Regions from separate parts of the Homo sapiens genome. Here region 1 is linked to region 2. The links are contacts of gene promoters, found by promoter capture Hi-C in blood cells and fetal thymus (Javierre and others, 2016). All regions are on one chromosome and are shown on one strand. The core of a region is centred on a gene start or on the middle of the fragment in contact, and the rest is flanking DNA. Distances in the headings are between cores, read along the strand shown.

Region 1 (3,335 bases), core at 669-3,168, 660 kb after region 2:
AAGCCTGTAATCTCAGCACTTTGGGTGGCCGAGAAGGGTGGATCACCTGAGGTCAGGAGTTTGAGACCAGCCTGGCCAACATGGTGAAACCTCATCTCTACTAAAAATACAAAAAATTAGCCGGGCATGGTGGCGGGTGCCTGTAATCTCAGTTACTCCGAGGCTGAGGCAGGAGAATGGCTTGAACCCGGGAGGCAGAGGTTGCAGTGAGTCGAGATTGCGCCATTGCACTCCAGCCCGGGCAACAAGAGCGACACTCCGTCTCAAAAAAACAAAAAAAACCCCCAAAAACATTGTTAGTAGAATGACTTCATGCATTCCATTGTGAGCTGCCTGTTTATGTGTGTGAACAGGACTCAGATCCGTGAGCACTCCCAGGCTGTGAATCTTTTTGAATGGACACAGAAAGCTAGGACCTCGGAACAAAGGTTTTAAATTAGAAACAGAAGGCAGCGAACAAAAAACTTTTCTCACTACTGAAATCCTGTATCAGTGAAGGTAAAAAAGAAAATTCTGTTGTGAGTTTAGAAGTGTATTTGTCTTTAACATATTGCTCTCAGCCATTAGGAATTGTTTTATGTTTTATGGAAGACCCGCGTGAAGGCCGGGCACGGTGGCTCACGCCTGTAATCCCAGCACTTTGGGAGGCCAAGGCGGGCGGATCACGAGGTCAGGAGATCGAGACCATCCTGGCTAACACGGTGAAACCCTGTCTCTACAAAAAAATACAAAAAATTAGCCAGGCGTCATGGCGGGCGCCTGTAGTCCCAGCTACTCGGGAGGCAGGAGAATGGCATGACCCCGGGAGGCGGAGCTTGCAGTGAGCCGAGATCGTGCCACTGCACTCCAGCCTGGGCGACAGAGCGAGACTCCGTCTCAAAAAAAAAAAAAGAAGACTTGTGTGAAGAAGGCGTCCTGATTGCAACTGGACATCTCAATGGGCATTTGGTAATTAAAGGTCTGCTATAGTCATGGGACTAGACTTAGGAAGGAATCTTAGCATGGAGAGAGAGCAACCTGTCCATAAATATTCACAAAAGGACAATGGTACCATTTTCTAGAAAATACTGGATTTTGATCTAAATAGGTGTCTACAAATATTATTTACTATAATTATGGAATGTATAAATTGTATATAAAAACATGTCTTTATGTCTTTATCAACATAAAAAAGTTAATTTTCTCTAGAATTCTAAGAATGAATAACACATCAATAAAATTTTTTACATGATGATAAATTTAAAGAGTTTTCCAGATGTATATCTTTATATATATGCATATAAAAATGTTATTGAATATTGAAATATCAAAATAAATCTTGCATAGTTGAAAGGACTATACATTTCTAGTTTTACACCAAAGGAAGAATTTATTGTTTAACTATTAAAGCTTTATCCTTAATATTAAGCAGTATATCTCATTGTGAATTTATATTCTTTTTTATTTACAGGCTAATGAAAATTTATAATATCAAATGCAATGTTCTACTACCACATGAGCAAATCGGCCTTCTTGATGGTGCTAAAATATCTCTTTGCAATGTCTAATCCTGGACCCTGGCTTTTGGCTGCTCCTAGGAGAAGGAAACCAGGCCCGTGGTACACACTGATAAGGACAGTGGGCTCCCCCAGGAAAAGCAGATGAGATTTCTCGTATAGATGACAAATGCGTTATCTAACATTATATTTTCATTTCTCTTAGGGAATATTTTTGTATGTCTACTGTGTTTCCATCTTTTTCATCACTTAGCATTAAAATATTCATTCAGTAAAGTGATTGGTGTAACCGGCATTTAAAAATTCTAATTGCATGCAAAGTAATATTTTGCATCATCCACATAGTTTCATTTCAAAGATGTACAAAAAGATAGGCATGATTCCTGCCTTAGAAGAGAATGTGGTCCGGGCGCGGTGGCTCACGCCTGTAATCCCAGCACTTTGGGAGGACGAGGTGGGAGGATCACGAGGTCAGGAGATTGAGACCATCCTGGCTAACACGGTGAAACCCCGTCTCTACTTAAAAAATACAAAAAATTAGCCGGGCATGGTGGCGGGCGCCTGTAGTCCCAGCTACTCGGGAGGCTGACGCAAGAGAATGGCATGAACCCGGGAGGCGGAGCTTGCAGTGAGCGGAGATGGCTCCACTGCACTCCAGCCTGGGCGACAGAGTGAGACTCCGTCAAAAATAAAAAATAAAAAATAAGAATGTGGTGTGACAGTCTCAATTTGCTAGACAGGGTGGTATTTGGGGGGGGCCAGTCTGTCCGATGGTTGAACATGGCTGAAAGTTTCATTTACAAATGTGCAGCGTTCTCTAGAGAGAAGACAAAATGCTGTCGTGACTTTAGAGGCAGAAGTTCCAGTTAACACTTTTGAATCAAAATAAATCTTACATATTAAGCTAGGAAAGGTGGTTTTCTCCAATAGTGTTAGAAATACGAAGCTTTTGAAAGAAATCATCTTTATTATCTCTGTAAAAATCAAAGACTTTAAAGCATTTTTGGTGTGGTTTTTGGTTACCCCTCTGTATTCAAAGAACTGAAATCAGTTTATTTGTCCATAGGTATATACATAGCTATAAAAGTATTTAGTGCTAGCAAGAATGGGATAGATTTTGGTGGACAACTTACGGAATTTCATGAAGGTTTCAAAACAAGGATGAAAAATGTAGTCCTTTTTAAGAATGAAAGCTCAGCTGGATGGTAAAGCTCTAGAAGCTGTCCCATAGTAAAGACTAAAGCAGGTGTATCTGAGCCTGGAAAGAAAGGTCCAAGGGGAGGTGTAAGTAGCCTGAAATACCTGGGGTTTGCATGTGGATTTTATACTTATTTCATGTTTTATTGACTATTCTGCTGTGGACTGCACTGTGTCCTTCTCATCCCCAAAATTTCTATGTCGAAGACCTAATCTTCAATGTGGTGGTATTTGGAGGTCACCTTTGGGCAGTGACAAGGTTCAATGAGATCATGAGGGAGGCCTTACAGGGGACTGATGTTCTCTGCTGTCTGCCAGCCAGGAGGAGGCCCTCGCCAGAACTCAACCATGCTGACATCCTGATCTTGGACTTCCAGCCTCCAGAGCTGTGAGAAAATAAATTTCTGTTGTTTAAGCCATCCAGCATGTGAAATTGTGTTACAGTAGCCTGAGCTAAGGCAAGAAATATTCCAATAAATATATTTCGTATTTATTCTAGGTAGCATCAGAGACCAGAAATAAGGCCAATGGGAATAATTTACAAAGAAGTTAAAGTTCAGTTCAATACGAGGGAAATTTTATTTTAAATTTTTTTTGAGGCAGCGTCTCACTCTGTCACCCAGGCTGGAGTGCAGTGGCACA
Region 2 (2,909 bases), core at 225-2,724:
GCTGGCTGCAGTAAAGGCTGTGAGCAAAAGGAGGGAGGCTGAAGGCCAGTAAAATAGAATCATATTTACAGTGATACAAAGCCACGTGCCACACTTTCTACTCGGTGGTGGGAATGACAGCATAAGGGTTTAATGCCTACATACAGTTAGGATCAGGCTGGAATTTGGGTGTTTGGCTCCCCATGTTTTAACTCACATTCCTTTAATTGGGTCATAGTCCTGCCCTCGCTGTCATTTTTGCCAGCTGCATGGTTCCCTCTGAGCTGCAGAATCAGGTAGACCAGAAGACCCAGGTGATGCTGGTGTTTACCTTCTTAGCTGGGAATTAGTTGGCAGCGGCCGCATGGCTCTGACATTCATTTCAAATATAACCTGCAAGGAGCAAGGAAGAAACCGCAAGCAACACAACTTTTTCGCCCTCAAATTACATCCCAGCTGAGACCGCTGCCTGGGATTTTCTCAGCATCCTTCCTGCCCCTCAGTAGGACATGCTGAGCTGTTCTGAGCCATTTCACCTGTGTTGGGAGCTGTGGCGGGAAATCAGACGGAGCGGCGTCTTGTAGCTCATTTGCCTCACGGTGGCTCCTGCTGCCTTTCTCCTCTTCCCATGTGGCCAGTGGCCAGCCAGCCCCTGCTGTCAGCACTTCTGAGCTAAGATCTCTCTGACTCCACAGGAACTGGCAGTGGGAATCCAAAAGTCACCATGGTGACGACTCACTTAGGAGTGTGCTGTGTTTCCTGATCGCGCAGCAGCCGTGGGGGCAGGCGGGGCAGCTGCGCTTCCACCCACTCTGAAGTTCACCCAAAGCTGCCCACTGGCCGGTGTTCCTCCAGCGTGGGCCTCAGCCCGCAGCATTGGCGTCCCCTGGGAGCTGTTTAGAAATGCAAATGTCGGGTCCTGCGCAGTCTTGCTGCTCAGAGTCTGCATGTTCCCAGGGCCCAGGAGGCTGCTGCATGCCGTGAAGTGTGAGGAGCCGGGTTGGGGTGGCCCACCCTGTGCACAGAGCCGGGAGGTGCCGTGGCCTGCACTGCCCCACCCCGACCTTCTGGCAGAAAGTCCAGGCTTTCCCTGCTCTACGCCGACTCCCACCATAGTCTTATTGAGATCTCATATGAGGAACCAACTCCATTCACAGCTGAGGGGCTGAATCAAAGCACTGGGGGCAGCAGTGCGGGGTGGGTGAGACCCTGTCTGGAAAATGGGACAGCGTTAGGGAGGAGTGTGTCCATGCAAGGAAGGCTTAGAAATGCTCCCACACATGTTGGGGTCTCAAAGTTTCAGCAGTGGTCACTGCCTGAGAAGCTCCGGCCAGGTCAGAGGTGCCAGGGCACAGGTCAGGAAGCAGCTGAACCCCTGCCTGCTAGCCAAGCTCCGGTTCTCACCCACTGTGCCTGGGTCACACCGTCCTATCCGGATTCCACTGGTATTCACATTCCTGGGATGTGGCGGAGTTCCAGCTGGGATCCGGCTGCCCATCGCTGTGGCGGGAAGAGAGCTGCTGAACAGCATGCGAGACCCCTTTGCAGAGGGGCACTGCTGCGCTGCCAAGGCAAAGCCTGAACAGGAGGAGGAGACGAGGGTCACAGTGATAATACCCCTTGGAGGGCAAGCTGGGGTGGGCCGAGGAAGGGGCCGGGGCAGAGCTTGAGGAATCTGCTGAAGGAACAGCCTGTTCAGGCTGACTCAGGTCGGCCCACAACTCCCTTCACCACCCCAGGTCCTTTGAGGTACAGAGGAGGCAAAGGAGAGAGCAGCTTTGCAGCCTGCAAAAGGTCTCCTGGCCCAGGCTTGTCTAATTTGCAGCTCTAGGCTCCCGTTCACAGCCCCGCATGTCTCCATGCTGGTTAGGATGATGCTAGCCCTGTGATAAACACATCCCATCATTTCACTAGCTTCACGCTCTGGAAGTTTTATTTCTTACTCATGTCCCTGTCCAGTGCTGTTGCTCCTGGTACTAGGCAGCACTCCGCATAATGAATCAGGAGCCGAGGCTCGTCAGTGCTCCACGGGGTGACTCAGGGTGCAAGGCTTCTTGTGTCCAGTGGCTCCGTCATCTCTCTTTCACCTTATTGCTGGGCTGCATCTTTTTTTGTGCCATGAACCCCTTCCAGTGGCCTGATGGTCTCAGAATAAGATTTTTTAACACATTAAAGAAAACACAAGACAGCAAGGAATAGGATATGAAAATGTTTTGTACTGCCAGCAAAACACCAGTCCTGCTGAAGCTACTGTGCTTTTTTGCCTACACTCATAATTGATGGAAATACTAAATATGAGGTACAAATAATGCAGTTGTTTTCCCATTGGAGGTCACAGGCCCCTGAATCTAACCCTGGGTTTACAGCTGTAGCCAAGAGTCAGGGAGAAGAGTGTGGAGAAGGCACAGCCGCTTCCTTGTGTCTGTGCTGGGAAGGACACCGGTCCCTCCACGCCCCACTGGCCAGCACCAGTGACAGAGCCACATCTAGTGGGTGGGCCGTGAGAAAAGAAACACTTCAGCTGAATTAAATTTAAAAGCATGTAATTGAGCAATAAACAATTTGCGAATCAGGCAGCCTTCTAAGCCAGAGTAGACTCAGAGACTCAGGCGCAGCCGCATGATGGAAGAACGCACCCTGTGTGTTCACCCGGCGTTCTTCCCTCTATGCGATTGCACAGCGTTTTCCCCAGTGTGTATTTACCCGGCGTTCTCCACCCTGTGTGATCGCCCAGCGTTCTCCCCTGTGTGTGTTCCCCTGGCGTTCTCCCCTCTGTGCATCCACCAGGCGGTCGCCCTTCTGTGTGTTCCCGCGGCGTTCTCCCCATGTGTTCACGTGGCGTTCTCTCCCCTGTGTGTTCCCACGGCGGTCTCTTTACTCTGTGCGTTCCTCGGCATTCTTTCTCCTGTGTGCGTTCACCAGGGGTTCTC

What was found. The method cuts DNA at HindIII sites, captures the fragments that hold promoters and counts their contacts. A CHiCAGO score of 5 or more calls a contact.
Region 1: a contact is called between a fragment that was not itself captured here and the fragment with the promoter of RPS6KA2-AS1 in region 2, in 1 of 17 cell types (endothelial precursors). The highest score is 5.4, in endothelial precursors.

What each region holds. Positions count from the first base shown.
Region 1 is chr6:166,246,254-166,249,588 of GRCh38, reverse strand. All of the region lies in intron 2 of LOC101929297 (a long non-coding RNA gene), which reads right to left. Among named protein-coding and RNA genes, the nearest start is that of PRR18, 60 kb to the left of the region's middle. The HindIII fragment of the contact is 1,053 bases long and covers 1,392-2,444 here.
Region 2 is chr6:166,902,263-166,905,171 of GRCh38, reverse strand. It overlaps RPS6KA2-AS1 (RPS6KA2 antisense RNA 1), which reads right to left and starts at 1,474. Exons shown (of 2, transcript NR_046644.1): 1 at 1,384-1,474; 2 at 103-872. RefSeq lists enhancers at 357-1,037, 1,038-1,719, 2,890-2,909. The HindIII fragment of the contact is 22,454 bases long and covers 1-2,909 here.